Regions from separate parts of the Homo sapiens genome. Here all the other regions are linked to region 2. The links are contacts of gene promoters, found by promoter capture Hi-C in blood cells and fetal thymus (Javierre and others, 2016). All regions are on one chromosome and are shown on one strand. The core of a region is centred on a gene start or on the middle of the fragment in contact, and the rest is flanking DNA. Distances in the headings are between cores, read along the strand shown.

Region 1 (4,581 bases), core at 1,740-4,239, 640 kb before region 2:
TCTACAGAACAAACTTTATTTGAGGCTGCCAGTTTCTGCCCTCTGATATAATAGCATGGGAAATAGTCTATGGTAAAGAACCAGATGGTATACAACTTATCATATTTCCTAAATCCACATTCTACTCTGGTTATACTGTAAAAAGACAAGAGAGAGGAGACTTTAAGACTTTTTGTTAGAGGGAAATAAAAAATGCATATCAACATTCGCCCAAAAGATTCAAAAAAGTCTTAACATTATGATCACAAAATTGTGGATCCTGGTGATTAATAATGCATACATATATTGGGATAAAGTCACGTGGAGTCCTCCAGGACACCTGTATGTCATTTTGCAGTTGTCCTCCCCATCATTTACATTTCATCAACAATATCTAGGAAATCATAATATGTAGGTAATTTTCAAAACTTAAAAAAAAATTTCTAAAAGATTAGGATTAAACCCTTGGCTTTGGAGTTGTATTTAAGCATACTCTTTGATGATGGAAAGAAAGTAGTTTAAGTGATGTACATGTATATTTTAGTAGCCCTGGAATAATGTGTTCTAGGTGTTATTTAAAAAAAAAATTCATGGCTAACCAAATTAATTGAAATAGGATTGACTAGATTTGGTTTGGTTTTGATGAAGCACAAAATGTTCTTTAAAGAGAAACTTCACCGGATACAGGGCACAGCTTTCAAATCATAATCCAGTGACAGTCTTCTTTGTATCTACTGTAATTGTCCTCATTTATTTTCAAAGGACTACTTAGACACCTCTGTGAAATGTCAATCTATTATATTCCATCTTTTGCTCTAAGTTATTCAAATCTAAAGCAAAGTGTTTTTAATGGAGAGATTACCTTCCTTCCACATCCTCTCACTCAAAACTTGTCCATCTAATAAATGCCAGAGACAAAAAGGTGAGAGATTCAGTTACTGCTATTTAAGAACTCTGGATTTAGTATGAAAAAGTGCTTACTACTTCTAGTGTTAGCCCCACCATCTAAAAAACTTAGAAGTCGACCGGACGTGGTGGCTCATGCCTGTAATCCTAGCACTTCGGGAGGCCAAGGTGGGCAGATCCCCTGAGGTCAGGAGTTCAAGACCAGCCTGGCCAACATGGTGAAACCCCATCTCTAATAAAAATACAAAAATTAGTCAGGTGTGGTGGCACACACCTGTAGTCCCAGCTATCAGGAGGCTGAGGCAGGAGAATTGCTTGAACCTGAGAGGTGGCGGTTGCAGTGAGCCGAGATCATGCCACTGTCCTCCAGCCTGGGTGACAGAGCGAGACTCCGTCTCAAAAAAAAGCTTAGAAGTCATCACTCCTATCCTTAAATAACAAAAAGCTGAAGAAACTAAGAATCAACAACTGTTCTTAGATCTATCAAAGAACTAAGGTTTCAGAGCAACCTGCCACTGAAATCTGGACAGGCAGTGATAGGCAAAATAATGGCTGAAGAGAAATCCAAGTCGTAATCCTTGGATTCTATGAATATGCTATATGACAAAGAAAAGAGGAATTAAAGTAGTAGATGGAATTATGGTTGCTAATCAACTGATATTTAAACAGGGAGATTATCCTGCAATATTAGTTGGACCCAATATAATTATAATGGTCTTCAAATTTGGAAGGGGTAGCAGAAGAGAACTATTGTGATACCAGTTTGAAAAGTGCTTGGCCTTATATTAATGCATGGAAAACGCAAGAAAATGAATTCTCCCTTAGAGCATCCAGAAGGAACATAGCCCTGCTGACTAATTGATTTTAGCTTGATGTAAACGATTTCAGACTTCTGACTTCTAGAATTTTAAGATAATATATTTGTGTTGTTTTAAGACACCAAGTTTGTAGTAATTTGCTATAGTGGTCAGTAGAAAAAGAATACATACGTGAATCCAGACAGTCACAGTGGAGCAACTTATCTGGAGCAGAAGCCATTAGCACCATAAGCTGGCAGAAAAACTAAAATATTAATTTTAACAAATTCCTAGAGGTTGAGTATGGATTATTTGAGAGCAAAAAACTCCTAGAGGTCCCAATCTTAGAGAGGCTTCAACAATTTTATGGGTTTTTACCTCTGGGAACCCCTCCAGGTTCTCATGGTAAATATTCATGAAAGTTTCCCTTGTGGCACTAGCAGGGGAAAGAAAAACTAGTCAATGTAAAATATACCCACAGCCTCCTCCATAATGGACTACGCTGCAGATAAAAGGACTTTACCTGAGCCTTATCCAAGCTGGAAAAAAGCATTCCTCCCACTTTAGTTCCCTCTAGTGTTTCTGCCCCAACTAAGAGGGTACAAAAACTATACAACCGGAGAAATGCTTATGAAAGTCACAGCCCACAGACACAGGCTGACTAAAAGTGTGCGTTTTCATCCTAAGTATATAGAAGGCATCCCCTCACTGACACTTTACCACCACACCAGCAGGACTGCAATATAGTAACACTGGATTACATCGGAAAGAGCTGCAAGATGCAGACTCTCTGTGAGGAGGAGTACTTAGGGAATCCTAAAGTCAAGAAAGAAGACAAAAGCAAGGAGACTAGAAGAACATGAAGCCTCTGGCACCCACAGCTACAGCTGAGATTAAACACAGCCTAGATTCCAGCCAGATTAATGTAAATCCTGACAGTAAAGGACAGTTTATCTCAGTTATAATTACCCAATGCAACATGTTTGGCTTTCAGCAAAATAATTACCCAATGCAACATGTTTGGCTTTCAGCAAAAACTACAAGATGTACAAAAAGGCAAAACATGCGTGTACGCATGTGCGCACATATACACACTCACACATACACAGTCTGAAGAGACAAAGCAATCATAAGACCCAGACTCAAATGTAACACAGATGTTCGAATTTCAGACAGAAAATTTAAAATACCTATGATAAATATGTTAAGGGTTCTATATTTGTTAGCTAGGGCTGCCATAACATAGTACCATAGGCTGGGTAGTTTAAACAAGGGAATTTTATTTCGCTCTGGAGGTTAGAAGTCCAGGCTCAAGGTGCCTTCAGGTTTTTCTTCTTCTTAGGCTTGTCGCCATGACTCGCAGATGGCCACCTTCTTGCTGTGTCCTCACGTGATTTTTTCCTCTGTCTGTGTGCATCCTTAGTATCTCTGTGTGTTTGAATTTCCTCTTCTTATAAGGACACCAATCAGAAGGAAAGAGATAAAACTGTCTATATTCACAAATGATATAATTTTCTATTTTAAAATACCAATGAAATGACAATAAATTCCTGTAATTGATAAGTGTATATAAAAGGGTCACAGGATAGAAGGTTGAAAGTCAATTGATTTCTTATATACCAGCAATAAACAACTAAACATTAAAATTAGAAAAAGAGTCCATACCATTTACAGTAGCTCAACTACACAGATATAAATCTAATATAATATGTATAGAAAATGTGTGTAGGAAATGACAAAATATCAACAAATAAAATAAAGAAGACAAAAACATGGAGAAAGATGTGTTATATGTATATACAAAACACATATATATTTTCTTACTCTACAATCAGCAATCACATTCCTAGGTATTTACCCAACTTGTTTGAACAAACTTATGTGCGCTCAAAAATGTGCCCATAGTTGTCTATGAAAGAGAAACTCGTTACTCTATGTTTTTTTCTACACATTAGAAAAATTTGAACCATCTACAGTAGTCCCCACTTATTCCTTGTTTCACTTTTTGTTGTTTCAGTTACTCATGGTCAACTGTGGTCCAAAAATATGAGCTATTTTATTATATTTTACATGTAACTCTATGTGAACAATTGGAGGAAGTACTGGTTTAGGCCAGTGGTTCTTAAAAAGTGGTCCCAGAACCAGTAGCATCGTCATCTGGGAACCTGCTAGAACATCAAGTCATTGGAACTCACCCAGAGCTACTGAATCAGAAACTCTGGGTATAGGCCCAGAAACGTGTGTTGACAAGACTTCCAGGGGACTCTGATCAGCGAACATGTGAACAGTAGGAGGTTTCAGCAAAAGGAAAGCTCAGGATAGAAACCTTGCACCAACATGGGCTGTCTTTTGGTGTGAACATATATAGACATGTTTTTGTGCTTCCCTGGGGGTGCTGAAGAAGGCTGATGAGAGCCAAGAACCAGCAGGCCTGGAATGGCCCACAATGGTGAGGAGTAAATGTGCCAAGAGCAGAAACTGCAAGTAATCTCTTAAACTATGGGCTGGTGGAGGAGAGCATGACTGAGACTCAAGGTGTATTAGTTTGTTCTCACACTGCTAATAAAGACATACCTTAGACTGGGTAATTTATAAAGGAAAGAGCTTCAATGGACTGACAGTTCAGCATAGCTGGGGAGCCTCACAATCATGGTGGAAGGCAAAGGAGAAGCAAAGGCATGCCTTACATAGTGGCAGGTAAAAGAGCTTATGCAGGGGATCTCCCATTTATAAAACCATCAGATTTCGTGAGACTTATTCATTACCACAAGAACAGTATGGGTGAAACTGCCCTCATGATTCAATTATCTCCATCTGGCCCCACCTTTGACACGTGGAGTTTATTACAAGTCAAGGTGAGATTTGGGTGGAGACACAGCCAAACCATATCACAAGGGGT
Region 2 (5,021 bases), core at 460-2,959:
GACACAACTGTCCCCCTGGGTGGGCCCTTTAGCTTTCCATTTCTCCATACTCCCTCTACTCCCAAGTGTCTTACACAGAGTCCAACCCATTTGTACCACCTGCCACGAGGGGACCACCTGTAGGGCTATCCTTTTGGCCTTGGACTTTGCAACTCCTGGCATTAAGAGGCAAGCAAGCAGCTCCAGTCAAAGAAATTATCATGTTCTCCCCAGTCATACTCAATAACATCTATGTGAAACACCCCACGGGGAAGTCAAGAAGCAACAAATTATCATGTTCTCCCCAGTCATACTCAATAACATCTATGTGAAACACCCCACGGGGAAGTCAAGAAGCACAAAAGGGACCCGGAACAATTAATGGGTGTTTTTGAGACTGTCAGAGTAAACAGCATCTCCTGCAATAAATCAGGGAAGTCTTGAGAGTCGCACCTTAGAGATACGGTTCCTGCCAAATCATCAATTTAATCAGCAAAATGTTTACATCTGGAGGACTCTGCAATGTGCCCTGGTAATAACCAGGCTCTAGCGGCTCCTCCTCACATCCACTTGTCCTTAAGTTTATTTACCTACCAGATCTCACTGCAGCTGAAGCTAACAAGCCTCTCTATGCACATCAGTATTCTTAGCCCCTCAATCAAAGCATCAGTGAGGACTATTGGGGCCCGCTGGGGGTCTGAAGAAGAGTCCCTCTGGCAGGGAGAAATGGCGAACTTCTCTAAACAAGCTCTGTGTCTCACAGGTCTTTGCCAAGGATCAACAGTGACTAGCAAGTCTGTGAGACAGAAAGTAAGAAAATACTCTTCATGAGGGAAATAACTGTTTGGGTATGTGTCAGTCACTACTCCATCTCCAATGTCCAGAACACTGCCTCCTACGTAGCAAGTACATATAAAGCAACTAGAATAGTAACGGGCATGTCATAAGCCAGTTATAATTATTATAACTAAATGTATAGCTATGTTTTTAAGGCAAGCTGAACTTTACTAGTTGTTACCCATAATTTGGCAATGGAACAGCCTAAGTAAATACACTTAAAATGCAGGAACCTTATAAAGTAAGCTTTTCAGCCCCTTGTCTTCTTTCTTTCTGGTTCTGAGTTATACACTTTGAAGAGGACTTTGTAGCCATCTTCTGAAAACTTCCAAATCTAATGGCACTAATAGTCAATGGGAAAGACAGTGGAGCACTGCAGGACATCACCAATTATATTACAGAGCCTGAAAGGAACTAAAAATATGAAGACTTTCAAAATAGTAACACAGCACAAACACCAAAATGTTAACACACGAGGAGTTTATCTGAAGTCCTACTTGTGATCTATTTATCAGTAATGTTCAAATATGGGAAAATTAATGTGGGAAAAATGACAATGCAACACCTCTTATCTAGAATATGTCGACATTGGTGTCAAAATACTTCTTTATTCTGTTAATTCCGCATTTCCAGGTAGCTCCAACTACCCATCTCTGCACGTTATACTGTGAAGCTGCTGACAATTTTCTGAGGGTGCTTCAGAAAGAACCATATCTTACACATCAGTTCTCCACCTCATACCACATGTTGAATTTGACAATGGCAAAGGTTAGAAAAGAAAACAGGTTTTTGCCTGGCTGTGCATCAGATGATGTAGGGATGTGGGGAAAAGTAGGAGGAGAAATAAGAAAGCAGGACTGTTTTTGCATTACTGGAGGAAAGGAACTAGCTCAGAAGTCAGCCTAACACCCACAGAGATTAAAACGTCTCTTCCTTCCTCTTTGTTTCCACGTCCCAGTCTTCAATAAATTCTATCTGACAACAGCAGCAGAGGGACCCACTATCTTGTGGTTTCTGTCAAGTTCCTGATTTTCATCCGTAGTTGAAGATGAGCAAGAACTCTGTAACAGTGTTACCTTGGAGCCTACAATGAGAGGTATTTCAAAATGAGTGAAGCATGACTCTCACAGATGAAGGCCTAGACGCAGGTAAGAAAACAGCTTTTCCATGAAATGACTTGCATGTATGTGAATGGTGCATGGGAACAGAAAAGATTTCTGAGCTGGGCAGCAACAAAGCTGAGGAACACTGAACCATTGCCACTCACATTTTTCTCAGTAGGTTACTTTTTGTTTGACAACTATAATTGGTATATTAATATATTTCCCCATGCTAATATGGGGATCCAATACTGAAATATTATCATTTATGATTTAGGATTTCCAATCGTGGCTGTCAAAATATATCTGTGATGAAGAGATATCAAGGAAAATGTTTAAAAGGTATTCATCCAGGACAAACATTTCAAAAGCTCGTAAATGTGTATTAAAATTGCTTCTCAAAACTACAAAATCGATTAGCATAATACTTAGGTCAGTATGTCTTTGTTTGCAATTGCATATGTGTACAGATATATAGTTGCATTTACTTGTACATACACTTATATAGGTAAAAGTTTTTATCTTTGTCATTATTAGGATAAGTTAACCCCATTAACACCTACTAAAATAAAATGCCTTTAAATTGTAAATCACAGAAATATCTGTCCTAGGCATAGCAAATATTTGAGTTCATATGCTACTTATTTATAGTCTATGACTAATCAGCTAAATTACTTACAATTCTTTAAACATTATAAATTAAATTACATTCAGGAGAATTAGCACAGACCCACAATGTCAGCTTATTCAACCAAGCCCATGCAATCCATCTTGTCTACATATACTTTGTTAACCAAGGACAATCAATCCTACGGAGAAAATGAATCAAAGATCACACTAGTAAAAAAATAAATAGTTTGTATATTCATCTTTCTAAAACATACAAACTTGATAATCAGTTTTAGCACTAAAAAAAAACCTAGCCATTAAGTTAAAAAGAAAACAATGCACTCGGAAAATACCAAAATGGCATATTTTATGATTTGTAAACATGCAATGAATTTTATATTTCGGTAAAATTTATGAATACTATATATACAAACATGCATACAATTGTGTGCACACAATTAACACATTGGTATATATGAATGAACTCTATATTGTCATGTCTGGAAAAAAAAAAAACAAGGAGGCCAGGCATGGTGGCTCACACCTGTAATCCCAGCACTTTGTGAGGCCAAGGTGAGTGGCCTCAGGAGAGGCTGGTCAGGAGTTCAAGACCAGCCTGGCCAACGTGGTAAAACCCCTATCTCCACTAAAAATACAAAAATTAGCTGGGTGGTAGTGGTGCATGCCTGTAATCCCAGGTACTCAGGAGGCTGAGGCAGGAGAATCGCTTGAGTCTGGGAGCCAGAGGTTGTGGTGAGCTGAGATCGGGCCACTGCACTCCAGTCTGGGCGAGAGAGTGAGACCCTGTCTCAAAAACAAAAACAAACAAAAATAAAACCAAAAGAACAGTGGGGAGATTCCAAGGTACTCAAAGCATGAAGACACAGGGGAAGTGGGCCGGGTGCAGAGGAAGAAGTATAATTTCCTGAAGTATTACGGTGCCCACTTCACAGTTGAAGCAGGTACAGAGGGTGTGACTATCCTGAGCAAGGCCACCTATGATGCTTCTAAAGTGCTGAACAGAAGAAGAACACGGCTCCCTAGAAGAACGTTCACTCTATAAAGTGCTTCTGAGTGAATTTAGATGTTGAGGCTTCCCTAAGCCTAAGGCTCTATGAACTCAGAAGTCACAGGTTTATTCCATTTGGCCCCAGGATATCCTTAGAAGTTAGGTCGGTCACAAGTGAGCTGTTTCAACCTCCCAGTGTGAGCAGTCTCTAGAATACCAAAAACAGACCAGTCCAGGAGGTAGGCTGACACCAACACAAGCATATTCTGCCATCATCATGAGCATCCTCACCTGCAGAAGGCTGTCTAGTGGAGGATGATGGACAATAAGGAGTGTTTCCTTTAATTGAAAATTATATCAGTACAAGAGTGCCAAGTTTGTTTGGATAGAGCAGTGGATCTCAAAGTGCAGATACTATACCAGCTGAATCAACATCACCAGTGAGCTTGTCAGACATGCAAATTATTGACCCCAAACCTACAGAATCAGAAACAATGGGGGTGGAGCCCAGCAATCTCTTTTAACAAGCCCTCCAGGTAATTCTGTTGCACATTCAGTTTTGGGTGACCCCATGTCCTGGGACAGATCCAGTTTTCACCTGTTGTCTGGGCATAATTGAAAATAGTGCCTCCTTTCTATCTCAAAAGTGTCCTTGATTGTATAATAAATTAATTATGATCATCAATATGATCACCCTGCCAGTTCATACTGGATGCTAAGAAGGCATTTCATTGGCCAGATGCTGTCTACTACTTGGGATTTCAAATTAGCTTCAAGTCTGGTGCTACACCCATAGCCTCCCCACCATCACCCCGCAATACTAAAAGATGCATTGCCTCCTAAAAGTCTGAGCAGCACAGCTAGATAAATCAACTTCAGTAAAAATATCCTATCTTAATGAGAAAAAATACCTACAACCAAACTATGTAAAATCTATTTTAAATTCTCAGCTTCCTAAGTAGCATGAGAATCAGGTCTCCAAAACCCTCTTTACTAAATTTTCTGGTTCTTCTTTACAGGGAATTTTCTTTTCCTCCCTAGCACCCTTAAAAAGGATAAATCTAGTAATTAATGAATGCTATTTTTATAGTAATCATTTGGTTACATTAATTCACCGAAACACCAAGTTTACCACAGCAAAGCTTCTCAATCCACCTGTTCTTTAAAGTCAAAGTGAAATACTGGTCATATGCTTTTAGATCTGATTAGATTCCTTTGAAATTTTTGTCTTTACTCGGTATAAATTAAATTGCTAGCTTTTTATTTTTCACTGAAACCTCCCATCTGTTGTTTTTGAAAAGCATCAAAGGCCTTAGATATCATGTTCTGACCCCTCATCATTCAAATAAAAGAACAGCCAGGGACGGGTGCTGGCTTCTACCCAATTATATGACATCTGCTTTTGAGGTTAAGATACCAAAGAAAAGAGGAAAAGATCAGTTAGTTGGCTTCTGAGGTTGGCCCAAAGCGATCTGTACACTTGTGGT
Region 3 (4,781 bases), core at 2,182-4,681, 580 kb before region 2:
ACCTCTCATATTATGGGCACATAGAGCCCAATAAATGTTACTTGAATTAAATGGAAATGCTATTAAACTGAATCTTAGGTTTACTTTTCTGTTTCATATTTTTAAAAGCATTTTTCTTTGTTCTGTAAGTTTCAGAATTAAACTCTTGGATACATTAATTAGAAGTTCCAAAGGACATATGATAAACTTCAGCAAATCATACTGATTTAAAGCATTGAGTATTTTTATTTATTTGACAAAAATAAAAACTTTGACCAATGTTTTTATATCAACTGCAACATAACATTCCAAACAACTTTTATGTTAAACTCTCAACTCTACAGTCAAAAATTGATATATTTAAACTCTTTATTAAATATACTATTTAATTCCTTAAATAATAAATTTGTTTCTGTTGGTGCTGCTTTTCTATTGGCTGAATATAAGAAATAACATAGGTTAGAAATAACATTTTAAAATTCACTCTTCAAAGTACAGCAATTTATGAGAGACTGGGCTCTCACATTCAGGGCTGCCTAGTGCAAGACCATGTGGGAACAGTTAAAGACATTCATATTATGAAGGCAGAGGAAACAATAGAAATGTTTTAAGTAAAAATGGGATGGAATGATATTTGCATTCTGAAAGAATCTGTCTTTTTATACACACAAATACACTCACACACACCTTTTTTCCACTTTCTCATTTTGATTTAGATTTTCTCATATCACTGCACATTATAAGCATGTGTCAAAATATCACATGTATCCCCCAAATATGGGCAATCATGTATTAATAAAAAATTAGTAAGATTCTCATTTCTAGCTCAAATTATCCTCAAAATAAATTTTAAGAAACTTAAAGCAACCCCTTTTATCATATATTCTCCTATTTAAAAACTTTCAGCAGCTACCTACTATATGAGGATTAAGTATAAATCCTTTAACTTTCAAGAAGCCCAACCAATCTATCACACTCCATCTTTCTAACCAACTATGTTTCTTCTTTTGCATACTTAGTCTCAACTACATGTTGGATGGTACACTCTTTTTTTCTTTAATCCATGATAAAATTCCCCCCACAAATGGGGAATTCTTTCTCCCTCACTTCCAGTCAAAATTCTGTCTATTCTTCAAGTTTCAAATCCTACATTGGAATATTAGCTGGCAATAATATCTTCTGCTGCTAAATGCCAATACTTATGTTAGTACCACTGATGTAGACATCTAAATACAATTATACAATCAAAAATTTTGAGTTTAAGACAATTGATAACTATATGTGAATAGACATTTTTAATGCCAAGGATTATATCACATATATTATATTGTACCCTACCCCTGGTCATGGCCAGAAGAGTACTTTGCACAGATACTATTTCAAAATATGTTTGAACAGGACTGTCTGTATATATTATATATACAGTATGTGTAGATAAGAAAACACTAGTATGTATTTCCCTAATTCTAAATTTGAAAAAAATTTTTTTTTTGAGACAGAGTTTCACTCTTGTTGCCCAGGCTGGAGTACAATGGCACGATTTCAACTCACTGCAACCTCTGCAAGCGAGTCTTCTGCCTCAGCCTCCCAAGTAGCTGGGCTTACAGGTACCCGCCACCATGCCAGGCTAACTTTTGTATTTTTAGTAGAGACGGGGTTTCGCCACGTTGGTCAGGCTGGTCTCGAACTCGACCTCAGGTGATCCACCTGCCTCGGTTAATTTTTCAATTTTAGGTGCTATTGTTTGACTTTCTTTTCAAGATAAGTATATAACCTCTTATAGATATTTAAACACAACATCTTCTTTCATCATCCCTACAAAATTAGATTGCAATTTTTGTTGGATCTCCATTCAGTATCTACCAATGTATTGTAACTAACTACCAATGTGTGTGTGTGTATATACATATATACACACACATATATAGATATATATACACGTACCTCAGAAGGTAAATGTTTGATTGAAAATGATTCTACTTCAGAATTTTAAAAAGCAACTTCCATTGTATTTAAGCTCTCAAACCTTTGCTAAGTTCAATGCCATGTTGGGTGCAGTGGTCCATGCCTATAGTCTCAGCTACTTGGGAGGCAGTAGTATCACTTGAGCCTAGGAGTTTGAGTCAGAGGGAGACTCTGTGTCAAAAAACAAAACAAAAAAGACAACAGCCTGGGCAACATAGTAAGACCCTCATCTCTAATAATAATTAAAAAAATTCAGTGCCATTCGGTCTTTTACAAGCAATAATTTTTGCACCTTGCATCTAGTTTCTCTTCCCCTACTGGTTTTAAGTTTGGTGTTAATATACCTTAGGGTAAGTATTTTTTATTGAATGTGCTGGGCACTTAGTAGGGCCTTTATGTGTGGAAATACACCTACTTTCATTGGTGAATTGATTATCTTTTCTTCCTTTTAGGGGCTGAATTCACCACCACCACCAAATTCACATGCTGAATTCTTAATCCCCAGTACATCAGAATGTGATTGCATTTGGAGAGCGAATCTTTAAAGAAAAAACTAAGTTAAAATGAGGTCACTAGGGTATGCCCTAATCCAATGTGACTGTAGTATTTATAAGAAGAGGTGATCAGGACACGGACACACACAGAAACAATGGTTAGGTGGAGGGGGCGGGGTGTAAAGACAGAGGGATTTGATGAAAACATTCATAAGGTATTAAATTTACAGAAGACTGGATATGAATTTTCAGGATAAATTAAAATAAATAAGTGGTCACCGGTCTTGGTGACAACAGGCCCATGAAAGACAGATAACAGAAAATTAACTGAGAATGTATGTGCTGAATCACCACAGCTCCAGGCTACTTGCACTGCTTGCTTTTAAATACCATGGCATCAGATATGCCCATTTCGGCAAAATATTGGAACCAAGCCAACAGTTAACAGCATTGATTGATTTTTCCTAAGTAGCTTACCCACTGTCTGAATACCACTGAGTTTCAAAAAACCTTGCATATCAAACTCCTAAGACAATCTGGTTTTTCTATGGCCATGTTTTCTAGCCGTTAATAGGCATGTGCTGTTTCAGCTTTCTCAAGTCTTACTATATTCCAAAACCATGTAGATCTCTTTTTCTCCATTTCTGTTATCCTTCTCTTGGGGATTTATATGATGCAATTTCTTCATCCTCATCTAGTGGTATTTCTTGAAGTTGCAGAGAAATTTATATTTGCCCAATGCTCTGTGTAAAGTAAAATAATCACAGATCTATGGGGAAGGTGCATCACCTCTTCCAATCAGATGCTGAATGAGAAGTAGCTTATTAAATTTACTTGTAAGCCAAAGTCGACATTTATATACTTCATTTCTACCATGTTTTAAACTAAAATCAGTATTAATCAAATTTTGCCAGGCACAGTGGCTCTTGCCTGTAATCTCAGCACTTTGGAAGGCAGAGGTGGGCGGATTGCTTGAGGCCAGGAGTTGGAGACCAGCCCCAGCAACATGGCGAAACCCTGGCTCTACAAAAGATACAAAATTTAGCCACTGGTAGACATCTCTAGAGGTTTATTTGGGTTGACACAGGAAAATAACTGATACGTGTAAAGTAAAATCATTTTGTATTCATAAAAATCACTTATAAACATTATTTATATTATGGCAAGGAAAGTTGCTCTTAATATAATCTTAATAGTCAGAGGTGTAAATGCTATAGAATTTCTGTGAAACTTAGAAACAGATTCAAATATATATATACATTATTGATATCACCTTGTAATGCATGACATGTTTCATAACATTAGTGACATGTCCTGTGCGTTATGCCTCACTAGCAATGCATAGGTCAAGGTGCTGTGCAAAACCACCGTGAAGACCGTCCATCCACACGGTATTTCCATCAAACCTGCACATGTGTCTGCGATGTGCTGGCTCACGTCATGTGTCTCATTTTTACTGAGTAAAATTTCTTTTTTGGCACATTATGGAGAAAAATAAGTAGGTTCATTTTGTTAAAAAAAAAAGAAACTTTATCTATGTTTCTATATTTTATGGCCAATCTGTGCATTCTCATTTCATAATAAAATAAAATTAGAACACTACACTATATGAAATAACAGAAAAGAGCATTGGCTTCAGAATCTTCAAATCTGGGATTAGGTTCTGACTGCACTCAAATGTGTTTTTCCACCTCTACCAGCCTCAGATGTTCATCTGTAATCAGGTCTTCATCTGTAAAATAAATTTGCTTGGTGGGGGTAGGGGAGTATCAAATCAGATAGTTTACGACATTTGAAATGCTTTAGACTATAAACTACTACAACATTGCTCCTATTATTGAAATTTAACAGTATTTTATCAAACAACACTTTGATTTGTGATGAAAACCTGGGCAAATTAAAAGATTTCTAACTACTAACTACTAGAAACACAAATTTATTGTGGAATCATTTGAGCAAAGGCTGGATCTGTGGCCATGGCACTGGGATTTACTGGAAAGAGGCACCAGAAAACTTTTTGGGAGGTGATGATAGTAATTTTCTGAAACTTGATAGAGATAGGGTTGGGGTTGCCTAAGTGTGATGCTTAATACTGAATGTCAATCTGACTGGATTCAAGGATACAAAGTATTGATCCTGGGTGTGTCTGTGAGGGTGTTGCCAAAGGAGATTAACATTTGAATCAGTGGGCTGGGAAATGCAGACACGGCCTTAATCTGGGTGGGCACAATCTAGTCAGCTGCCAGCATGGCTAGAATATAAGCAGGCAGAAAAATGTGAAAAGAGAGACTGGCCTAGCCTCCCAGCCTACATCTTTCTCCTGAGCTGGATGTTTCCTGCCTT

The links. The method cuts DNA at HindIII sites, captures the fragments that hold promoters and counts their contacts. A CHiCAGO score of 5 or more calls a contact.
Region 1: a contact is called between a fragment that was not itself captured here and the fragment with the promoter of P2RY14 in region 2, in 1 of 17 cell types (monocytes). The highest score is 5.7, in monocytes.
Region 3: a contact is called between a fragment that was not itself captured here and the fragment with the promoter of P2RY14 in region 2, in 1 of 17 cell types (monocytes). The highest score is 5.2, in monocytes.

The regions. Positions count from the first base shown.
Region 1 is chr3:151,918,994-151,923,574 of GRCh38, reverse strand. The region is part of intron 1 of AADACL2-AS1 (AADACL2 antisense RNA 1); the gene reads left to right. Among named protein-coding and RNA genes, the nearest start is that of AADACL2-AS1, 6.9 kb to the left of the region's middle. The HindIII fragment of the contact is 3,389 bases long and covers 1,295-4,581 here.
Region 2 is chr3:151,275,230-151,280,250 of GRCh38, reverse strand. It overlaps P2RY14 (purinergic receptor P2Y14), which reads left to right and starts at 1,709. Exons shown (of 3, transcript NM_014879.4): 1 at 1,709-1,964. The region is part of intron 16 of MED12L (mediator complex subunit 12L); the gene reads right to left. The HindIII fragment of the contact is 3,614 bases long and covers 1,065-4,678 here.
Region 3 is chr3:151,854,371-151,859,151 of GRCh38, reverse strand. The region is part of intron 1 of AADACL2-AS1 (AADACL2 antisense RNA 1); the gene reads left to right. Among named protein-coding and RNA genes, the nearest start is that of SUCNR1, 17 kb to the left of the region's middle. The HindIII fragment of the contact is 7,050 bases long and covers 1-4,781 here.